Linked DNA regions of Homo sapiens: region 1 is linked to region 2. Evidence: promoter capture Hi-C in 16 types of primary human blood cells and fetal thymus (Javierre and others, 2016). All regions are on one chromosome and are shown on one strand. The core of a region is centred on a gene start or on the middle of the fragment in contact, and the rest is flanking DNA. Distances in the headings are between cores, read along the strand shown.

Region 1 (5,775 bases), core at 1,955-4,454, 160 kb after region 2:
AACGTGCACTAAAAAAAGGACTAAGTAAAACGATGGGAGTCGAATTAAACATTCAACAAGCAACAGTACTCACTGGGCAACATTTGTGAGTCGCGCTTGAGTGCCCAGGTCACTTGTCATGGGCACAAAAGCATTTAGAGTTTCTGGAAACTGTTTGGGAGTGACCTTAACAGCCTGGGGCTGGGCCCACGAAGCACGGAAAGGCACCCCCTGAAAACACCACCATCCAGGAAGAACGGGCGCTTTGGAAGCCATTTGAGAACTGTTAATTGATTACTTTATTTCATATAAAAGTTACATTGAAAGAAGAGGTTGAAAAGTCAAGTATACTTGATTTGCACACACTTGCCAAGTCTCACAGGATTCAACCACTTGGATAATTGTTTTATTGATAACAGGATATACATATTAAAAGCCTCACACTGAAGCCCACACGCATGTCCAACCCAGACAACAATGTGCAAATGAATATGCAGAACAATCTCGGAAACTGGCGTCTCCAGGATCACCCACACTTTGTCCCTCTGGCTGTGACGCAGCTCTTCCCCCAACGGCGCACACGCTTCTGCGGTGACCAAGTCCACTTCCAAACCCCCTGCAGGTTTGCTCGCTTGGCTAGGACGGTGGCTCAGGTAGGTCCCTTTGTGGTTTTGCATCAGCAGTGGTAGAAGCCCTGATTCGGATGGGGTACAGAGTAATTAAAAACAAAAAACAGTTCACAGATGAACAGAAAGGCAAAACAATTCCCAGGAGGGAGACGCCAACTTCTCTTAGTGTGGAGGGCAAGCATAAAGGAAGACCCTCAGACTTTGTCACAGATTGCTTCTTGATGCGTCCGGCAAAAAATGTACAAACCAGGCAAGTTTAAGGCAAGGCCCCACGAGGGGAGCTGTTGGCTTTCTGGCATAATTTTAAGCTCCGCACCAAGGATCCTATTTTATCACCTGTGCCGTGGGTGGAGAAGAAAACGTAAAAGCTAACCAAAAACTCCAACAAGAGGGCGCCATCCTGGCCATTCCCGACTGGAGCGCTGCCTGCGGTGGCACAGTCGCCCCTGCCAGGGGCTGGCTGCCTCATGGTCCCCTCCCCTTCCCAGAGGTGCCCAATGGCTGGGCCCTGCCTCTCCAGTAAGGATGCCTCCCCTGCCCCACACACAGCATCGGGCTGCCCCAAGTATCAAGTCACCGAGCCGCAGCTCTGCTCTTACCTAGGTGCCATTTATACACTGCTAATTTGGCTGGAACAAAAAAAAAAAATCAGTTCCAAGGCCCTCAAGCACTCAAGATTTCTTTAAAAAATGAAAGCAGGAGGGCAACGAAGGGCCGCACAGGAACGGCTGTTCTTTGGATCGAGATGTCCTCCAACAGCAATACATTCATAGTAACCACGGGCAGGACCCCGCGGCTCTCTCCCCTCTTCCCTGAAACGTCGGTTTCTAAAAAATAGCTTGTTTGCTGTACACAGCCGGTAAATGTTACATTGCCTAAACAACACTGGCAATTTTGACACACATGCACACACGCGCGCACACGCACAGACACGCACACACACAGACTTGCTGAGAGGGTCAAAGGATGTCTCTTCCGGGGCAGCGGGGAGTGTGCCGGAAGCCACCTTCACTGTTCAGTGCACAGATCTTTTGCAACTTCAGTGCAAAGCATCGGAGCTAATCGAGACCAAAACGTCTTTCTATGTAAACGCCCTGCTGTGATCCGGGGAGTGCACTGCTGAGTGGCGGGGTCAGCAGGAGCCCCCTGAAATGACTGCTTGGAGAATCCCTGTTCACTGGATTCACTGTTTTTCTTCATGATTGGAAACAGCAGCTCAGGACCCAGGATTTGAATAACCCATGTAATAACCCGAAGTATTCTCCACAGAAGCCCCAGCTCTGCAGGAGGCCACGGCGTTTGGCTTCTTCGTGTGGCCACACACCTTTCCGTTGTTGTACAGGTGGGGACTGAGAGCCTCTTCCTCTGCCATCTGTGACTATAAATATATAAAACTCTGCTTGCTGCAAGCAATTGGTTTGTGTAGGTTCCAGTTGCCCTGTTGGTCACAGATGAGCTGTTGATATCCTTCAGACCCCAAATAAATAACTGGAAGTCTGTGAGCAAGTTTCAGTCTGATGAGCCACGCCTCACACTGAGAACTCCGGGCCACCTTTTCTGGGTCTCGTGGGCAGTCGCCTAAATCGGAAGCCCACAAAGGGATTCATCCAGAGGAGTGAGGGGGGCCCCCCAAAGACGGACTTCATCCCTTCCCATCGCAGCCTCCGCTCCCATGTGGGCTTCTCACTTTTCAATCGCTCGATCTCCTGGAAGCAGAAAGAAAAGCAAGTGGCAGCGGCTCCAGGAAGCTCGGCAGACCCCACCAAGCCTCAGAATCACACCGTGCTCAAGCACAGTGTGGGCTCGATGGAGGGTAGGTGAGTGAACTCTCCTTCCCAGCTCTGCCCCGATCCAGACCCCGTGGCCTCTGTGAGCCCAGCCCGGCTGCAGCCACGTGGCCAGCCCAGACTACCACAATGGCCCTCCCAGCCAGGCACCAACATTTGTCGCTCGTTAGTTACTGTGTACAGACATTTACTGAGCGCCACTCCAGGCCTGCAGAGCCAGGCCCTAAAGGCAGTCAGTTCCCTGAAATTTACTGACTGCACTGGGAGCTGGGAATCTGCCTGGCTCTGCTGACTTGCAAATCAAACTGAGACTAGAAATATGCACTGCCCAGAATGAAAGAAACAGCAAACACAGGGAGCTGGTTGCAGCTCATCAAGACCGTCCCATTACGTTCCCGAGTCAGTCCACAGGCACCTATTGTTGACATTAGGACTTTTCATTTACTCAAGCTTGGACCACATATGAAGTCCACACAGCCGAGAACAAAGCTTACCGTCTCGTCGTTGCATATGGAGTGGATTTGGGTGCCAAACATAACTGCAGTGAAAGTGAAAAACAGAAGACCCTCAAGGCACAGGAAGATCAACAGGATTACAGTTATCGGAGGTGAAAAATCACTGCATTCTGCGGACAAGAGGAAGTTGGTTATAACTGGTCCTGAATACCCCGAGTGGCAGAATGTTTGGCTCAGAGAAGAATCCTCTAGGGCCAGCCCCTGGCCAGCTTCCAGGGGGAAGTTGTTCACTTTCTAAATGGGCACATTCATTGTTCTCCAAGGAGCAGAGGAGGGCCACCCTTCCAAGCAAAAATTCATACCATGACTTCCTGGCCAGTGGTTTCAAAAGAGTCTGTATTTTCTGAGGTTTCTATTGACACTGTATTTATGAATTAAATGGCAAATGAAGCCAGACCAGAAGAGTTGTGTGCACCCATACCAGTGAGCAGTGCTCACAGGAGTCTGTTCACCATGTTCCCCTGGGGTGGGATGAGCCTGTCCAGACCTCACTGCATATCTAAGGTAGGATAACGAGCACCTATTTTCACTACACTTGCTTAGGGTCGGTCACTCACGTAAGCAACGTGAAGCCTGCTTTGAACAATGGCGAGCTAGCTGACCAGCAGACAGACACAAGCTTTTGGGGCAACAATATACTAGTAAAATGGTGGTGTTAAAACTTAACTAAATTCTTTAAAATTCAATTGCTAAAATAATTGCAATGATTTCCTTCAAAATTGGAAAACTGGTTCTTCCTTTAAAGCTTTCCCCTTTCATCCAATAACAGCATGCAAAGCCAGGAATGACACATAGCCAGGGAACTTACCAGTCCACTGCCCTCGGACACAGGAGATGAACTGAAATCCACAAAGGATCAGAGCATGGACTGAAGACAGAGCTATATACATCTAGAATGAGGGGGAGATTGGTTAGTCACTTTTATTTTTTATTTTTTTTAGAAACAGAGTCTCCCTCTGTTGTCCAGGCTGGAATGCAGCGGCGTAGTCTCAGCTCACTGCAACCTCCGCCTGCCAGACTCAAGCGATTCTCCTGCCTCAGCCTCTCAAGTAGCTGAGACTACAAGCACCATGCCCGGCTAACTGTTTTGCATTTTTAGTAGAGATGGGGTTTCACCATGTTGGCCAGGCTGGTCTGTAACTGCTGACCTCTAGTGATCCACCCAGCCAGTTAGTAACTTAAACAAGTCTTTCTAAGAGCAAAGGCTGATGACACATCATGTGTATACCTCCATCTTGTCAGAGAAAAAAATGAGGGAAGGATTAAATGGCAGCAGTTGACATTTTCCTACCCAAGATCATATTAGACCAAGTAGAATAATTTTATAGAAAAATATAGCTGGGCATGGTGGCTCACGCCTGTAATCCCAGCACTTTGGGAGGCCAAGACGGGCAGATGGCTTGAGCTCAGGAGTTTAAGACCAGCCTGGGCAACACAGCAAAACCCCGTCTATAAAAAAATAAACGGCCGGGCACGGTGGCTCACGACTGTAATCCTAGCACTTTGGGAGGCCGAGGTGGGCGGATCGCCTGAGGTCGGGAGTTCAAGACCAGCCCAACCAATATGGAGAAACCCCATCTCTACGAAAAATACAAAATTAGCCAGGCGTGGTGGTACATGCCTGTAATCTCAGCTACTTGGGAGGCTGAAGCAAGAGAATCACTTGAACTTGGGAGGCGGAGGTTGCAGTGAGCTGAGATCACACCACTGCACTCCAGCCTGGGCAACAAGAGCAAAACTCCATCTCAAAAAAAAAAAAAAGAAAAAAAGAAAAGAAAAAGGAAATAAACTCTAACATACTTTAGGAAGATTCCTGTTATTATTAATAAACAATAGCGATTGAGGACATCTGGGAGAGAATTAAATTACAGTGAACACCTAAAATAATACAAGCAACATATTACTTATTGGGACTACTTCCTGCCAATGACAGCACAGTATTATAATTTGAATCCTGGAGAAAAGGCTGGAGAGAAACTGGCCTGACGTTAGTAGATTTCTCTGCTCCAGGCAAGAAGCAGTTAAAGAATTTCAAATTCAATGTAAATTCAATACAAAAATATTTTTACTTACAGTGAAGAGCACAAAAAATCTTTGATTCTTTTCTCCTACACAATTGTTCACCCACGGGCAGTGATGATCCATTTTCCGAATACATCTTTTGCAAATACTGAAAAGGAGAGTTTGATTTTTCAGTATTCCATGCTCTGAGGAAACCAGAGTAACACAACCAAATAAAATCAAAGGTGGAGGAAAATTAGAATGTATATTCTAATACAACATGTCAAAAAATATCATACATTCTCACTATATTCCTTTAAGGTTTATCATTTTAATTAAATGTCTTCCGTTTCCTAAGGAAAATACTCAATGGACCAACAGCTTGGGGCGAAAGGTCAAACTAAGCCATACTTCACGAGTTCTCAGACACTCCCCCAGTAGAGCTGGATCATGTACACCTATCAGTAATGTTCCTAATTTTGCAAGCTTACAAGTCTATTTCAATAAAAAACAAAAACTGAAATTTTACCCTCAAGGAGAAACATTCTTTGTATCTTCAAATAATTCCTACCACTGAATCCATATTCACTGATGAATATGCAGTATGGATTGCATATTCATCTTGAATCATCAACTACACACCCAGGCATGAAGTCGTCTTGTTTTTAACAGCTGTATTTTACTTTTGCCCAAAACACTCTGTATGTCCAATTTTAAATAACTAATTTGATTATCGATTACTTTTTAGTCCAAGCTTGCACCATTTAATTACATCAAGCAGACATCGATGGCAGCAGGTTCGCTGCAGGCAGACTTGCTATCATAGCGTCACCTTTTTTTTTTTTTTTTTTTTTTTGAGATGGA
Region 2 (5,341 bases), core at 864-3,363:
CTTTGGGGTCAGGTACTCAGAGGCATCTGTTTTGTTGTTGTTTGTTTGTTTGGTTGGTTGGTTTTGTTTTGAAATAGGGTCTTGCTCTGTCACCCAGGCTGGGATGCAGTGGCTCGATTTCAGCTCACTGCAACCTCCACCTCCCAGGCTCAGGCAATCCTCCCACCTCAGCCTCCTGAGTGGCTGGAACCACAGGCATATGCCACCATGCTGGCTACTTTTTGTAGCAACTGGATTTCATCATGTTGCAGGCTGGTCCTGAACTCAAGCCACCTGCCTGGGCCTCCCAAAGTGCTGGGATTACAGGCCTGAGCCATCGTGCCAGGCCTCCAAAGGCATCTGCTAACACAGATCTCTTCTCCCCTTGGATTTGTCTTTTGTCAATCCAAGGACTGTTGTTCTGGAACAGTCTTATTCACTACTGAGCCCTCCAGTGCTTGAAACAGAGCCCAGCACATAGTAGGTGCTTAATTATTGGATGACTGCATGCCAGTTGAGTGCCTCTGAAGAATGATGCTTCAAAGACTGAGAAAAGTAAAACAAAAAGAGGAAAAAAAGATAACAGAAAACATCTGCATTATTATTATCTTTTTGAGATGGAGTTTTGTTCTTGTCTCCTAGGCTAGAGTGCAATGGCGCCATCTCAGCTCACTGCAACCTCTGCCTCTCAGGTTCGAGCGATTCTCCTGCCTCAGCCTCCCAAGTAGCTGGGACTACAGGCATGCACCACCATGCCCGGCTAATTTTTGTATTTTTAGTAGAGACAGTGTCACCATGTTGGCCGGGATGGTTTCGAACTCCTGATCTCAGGTGATCCGCCCGCCTCAAACTCCCACAGTGCTGGGATTACAGGTGTGAGCCACCGCGCCCGGCCAGTCTGCATTATTCTGTATCTGCATTTGAGCCGCACCAAAATCTTAGGCAAGCCTTCCCTGTTTGAGTCCACGTCACGCAGGCAGCCTTCCATAGTCCTTGTTCCACCCATTCCCCATCCTTGTTTCTCCCACGTGCCCTAGCTCGTGGGGGCCCCAGACTCTGAGATCCCGGAGGTGTCTTGTTTGTGCCTGCTGTATAGCACAGGGCCCGGCACAGAGCGACTCGATGGGTATTTGGGGAATGAGTTAATGCTGGAGGAGCTAATTCCGGTGTCTTGGTGCGGAGATGAGCAGTGCGGACAGGCCCCCTCCTGCCCTTGGGCCCCAGCACCTTACCGCGCAGTGCCTGCATACCCGTCCACATTTTGTGACTGAGGCGGGAGCACGGGGCAGTCCCTTAGCTCTTAAGGAACGTGGATTTACCTGTTTCAAAGGTGATTTCGTCTGGCTCTAAATTGATTTCCGTATGTACCTGCACAGGTTAAAAATGCTAAATGCCTCCGGGCAAAAGAGATATGAACATGCTGCACTGCTCCTAGCTACGGGACTTGGGGCACGCTCTTCTCCAAGCCTCAGCTACTGGATCTGTGAAATGAGGTGATTTCCACCTCCCTGGATTCCTGGGAACGCGTCCTAGGGTCGTTGAAGGTAAAGTGCGGAGCCTGGATCCCCGCGCTAGCGGCCCCATCCGGAAACAAGTCTCCCTTTCTTCGTCTGCAAATTGGGAAGAGGGGGCCTAAGTTTTCTGAGCACGTGTAGAGGGTGGGAGTCACCTCAGTAACTGTGTACTCTGCACCGCGCCACAGTTCACAGCGCCCAGCCCTTGCGGATTTCATTTGCTAAAATCCTGGGAGGTCGCCTCCTTATTCCTATTTTCCAGTTGAGCTGCAGAGAGCTGGGGTTTGGTAAATTTGCAAGCCCCTTGTGGGAAGCGCTTGGCACCGCGCCAGGCGCATAGTAAGCGCTCAATGAAAACTATGCTTGTGTGGCCAGTGGCGAGGGAGCTGAGCGTCTCCTTGTCCCTAGCCGGCCCTGGAGGCCAGCGGCCCCGCCTTCCTCGCCCACCCGGCGCCCGCGCCTCAGCTGCCCCCCGCCTCCTTCAGCCCGCTGAGCCTGCGGGGCGGGGCCGGGGGCGGGGCCGGTGATGCTCGGTCCTACCAGCGCCGCCAGCGATCTGGGGGCGTGGCCTCCGGGCTCCGGGGAGCCTACAAGAGGCGGTACGCTGAGCCCCGGCACCCACTCGCATCCCAGGGCGTCTCCGGCTGCTCCTATTGAGCTGTCTGCTCGCTGTGCCCGCTGTGCCTGCTGTGCCCGCGCTGTCGCCGCTGCTACCGCGTCTGCTGGACGCGGGAGACGCCAGCGAGCTGGTGATTGGAGCCCTGCGGAGGTAAGTGTGATTTCCATGCTTCTCCCTTTTGCAAACTGTTACCCCCCCGAGAAGCTGGAATAACTAGGACAGATGCCACCTCGCAGGGCTGACTGTGTGCTGGCACCACACCGAGTGCTCTGCTTGCATAGCGGAACACAGCTTTGCGACATGCCCTTTTGCAGATGGAGAAACTGAGGCTCAGCGAGGACAACTCATTTGTCCAGGACCTCGCAGCCAGGACTCCAAGGACCCAGGATTCAACGCCGATCTGAGCGCAGAATCCTGCTCCTTAGAGGCTGTTTACTCTCTTGCCTTCCTCGTGCAGTTCACTAGCATTTGTTGCATTCCTGTGTTCGTAGTGGGTGTCAATAACTGGAAAGCTGATGGCATGGATATGGCAGGCATTAGAATGTGTCCTACTCATGTCTGGAGGACCAGGGTGATCTAGTGGCATGTGCATTCAGCTGCAGTTTAGAGGGCCACGCCCCTCTGTGATTTCATTTGCAAGGTAGCCTTCTTCCCACATTTCAGATGAAGATGCTGAGGGTCAGAGAGGTGAAGTAAGTTGTCCGGGCAGAGCCAGGGCTGGAACCCAGCTCTGTCTGTCTCCAGAGCTTCAAATGGATGTGTAGAGACTTGGGGCCATGTCAGGGTTCTGCAGTCTGGGGGAACACGTTTCTGGGTTTCTTTAGCCAGAGCGGGCACCTGCATAACTCCTGCGTGGGGAGAGTTACCCTGGAAGCGGAGGGCTCACTCTGGAGTGTGGGGGAGATCGGTCGTCCCACGTGGACAGAGCCAGGGCTAGTCCCTCATGTGCTGCAGACCCAGAGCCTCCCTTGCTAAGGCTGGGCTGGTGGACAAGCCAGGGAGGACTTCGCTGATGCCTGCTCATCGCAGTCCAACTTGAATTGGGCGTCTCTCAGCCAAAATGTGAGTTGCTGCCCTGGCTGAGAGAAGCATCCCGTGCAAATGCCTAGCTTGCCTTGCAACCGAGAGTGGGGTTGTGAGTTTCCCCTTTGGGCCTTTGGACCTCTTGCCCTGGTAGAATGGGGTGAGCCTGCTTTCCCCATCCAGGGTCTGATGTCTGACAGTGAGGAGAGCCTGCAGAACAGGACCGGGGCGTGGTCCTTTCCAGTAGACTGAGGCCATGAGTTGTGACTGTCGGCTGTCCCAGGGCTCCTTGGGTTGTATGCACCTGATTTTCTGCTTCTGCCCCTGATCTGGCTGTTCCCACTCAGGAGAAGGGGTGGGTGTGTGACTGTGTTGCCTGTGCGGCAGGCACGCGGTCTGTGCCACGCAGTTTACCTGTATTGTCATCGCTGCAACACCCCGGGGAGTAGGCCTCTTGATGCCCACTTCACAGCTGAGGAAACTGAGGCTCAGCAAGGTGAAGTGCTTGCCTAAGATCCCCCAGCTGGTATGGAATGCTGTCACCCCCAGGTGGGTCCTATCTGCACTCTTGACCCTGCTTTCTTTAAGACACTTCCCTGCCCACTGCCAACTCCACCCATGAACCTGACCTTCACACAGGTGATGTTTTGTCTTACAGGGGCTCCAGTTAAAACCACTGGACAATGTACCCAGGGAGGAGAAACCAAGAGGGTGATTTTGATTTTTTCAGAGTTTCTTAAGATGTGAGAGTAGGAATAGTAATAATGCCATTTGTAATAATACAAGCAGCTGACATTTACATGATGCTTAGTACAGACCAGACATGCCCAGGGTTTCCACGGATGAGCTCACTGCCTGCTCTATTAGCTGGGCACTTTTTACAAGGAGTTAGTTGAGGCTCAGAATTATTAAGGTGTGTGCCCAACATGACACAGCCAGGGCGGGGTAGAGCTGCCGTCCAGGCTGGGCCCTGCCCCAGATTCTGGGGGAAGGTGCCCATCTAATGACCAGCCACATGACTGTCCCAGCAGAGCTTGCTGCTAGTTGAGGCTTTCTGTGCCATGTGGGAGTTTTTTTAACGTTGGCAGGGATCTGGGTCCCTGGTCCCTGTTGGGGTGAGGCTGGGAGGGGATCAACTGACCCTGGGCTTGGGCTCAACATTGCTGACAGGTACTGAGAGCCCCGTCCCAGGACCCAAATCAGTGCTGGTTCTGAGTCCTGCCTCTGTCCTGGAGAGGAGAGTTGGTTTGACTGGGAAGGCCTGAGCTAGGGAAGAAGACTGCGAGGTCTCTTAAAACCTCTGCACTTCATCCCTCAAAAGACCACAAATTAAGTATGTGGCCCTTTGTAAGTTGCATTTGAAAGTTTTTGGAGGCAGGACCCTCTGACGTCTTTGGAGGTCAGAAAGTTTTTGGAGGCAGGGCACTGACCTCTTTGGCCTGTGGGAACTGGAACTTTTCTTTCCTCTGTCACCAGCGTCATTTGCTGTGTGTGGGAGGTGTCTGCATGTCTGCCTGCGCCAGACTCAGGAGGCTTTTTCTTTCTTTTTCTTTTTTCTTCTTTTGCAAACGCACTGGTTTTTGATCAGTCCCAGATGTGCAAACCCAGGATCACTCAAACGGGCTGACGGCTTGTCAGGAAAGGAAAATTCAATCTGGGCATATTTCACTTCGTCTTCAGTTCATTGAGTGGAACAGATGCTCAGACCTTCCAGGGACAGGGACCTAAAGCACGTTGTAAAGTCTTAAATAGAGCACGCTGAGTTCTGGGACAGGCAAGGGACAGGTAGATCTGGGTGGTGGTTAATAGGATGGGCCATGTTCTGTTTTTCTTTTTCCTGAAAAGATGTATTGTGGTAAAAATACACATAAACATAAAATTTACCATTTAACCCATTTTGAAGTGTACAATTCAGTGGCGTTTAGTACATTGGAAGTATTGTGCAGCCACCACCACTAATTCCAGAGCGTTTCATCATCTCGTAAGGAAACCCCAGGCCCATTAGGCATCATTCGCCATTCTCCTCCCTTCAGCCGCTCATCTCCTTTCTGTCTCTACGAACTTGCTTATTCTGGACATTTCATGTAAATGGAACCACACAATGTGTGGCCTTTTGTGTCTGGCTCCTCTCACTCAGCATCATGTTTTCAAGGTTCATCCATGTTGTAATGTGTATGAGACCTTCGTTCCTTTTTTATGGCTGAGT

What was found. Contacts are between HindIII fragments. The CHiCAGO score rates a contact against its expected background, and 5 or more counts as called.
Region 1: a contact is called between a fragment that was not itself captured here and the fragment with the promoter of CRISPLD2 in region 2, in 1 of 17 cell types (monocytes). The highest score is 5.0, in monocytes.

The regions. Positions count from the first base shown.
Region 1 is chr16:84,974,206-84,979,980 of GRCh38, forward strand. ZDHHC7 (zDHHC palmitoyltransferase 7) reads right to left here. Exons shown (of 8, transcript NM_017740.3): 5 at 4,984-5,080; 6 at 3,719-3,800; 7 at 2,890-3,020; 8 at 1-2,314. The coding sequence ends at 2,138. Among named protein-coding and RNA genes, the nearest start is that of ZDHHC7, 34 kb to the right of the region's middle. RefSeq lists an enhancer at 2,126-3,325. The HindIII fragment of the contact is 645 bases long and covers 2,883-3,527 here.
Region 2 is chr16:84,817,872-84,823,212 of GRCh38, forward strand. It overlaps CRISPLD2 (cysteine rich secretory protein LCCL domain containing 2), which reads left to right and starts at 2,114. Exons shown (of 15, transcript NM_031476.4): 1 at 2,114-2,262. RefSeq lists a silencer at 1,887-2,076. The HindIII fragment of the contact is 15,944 bases long and covers 1-5,341 here.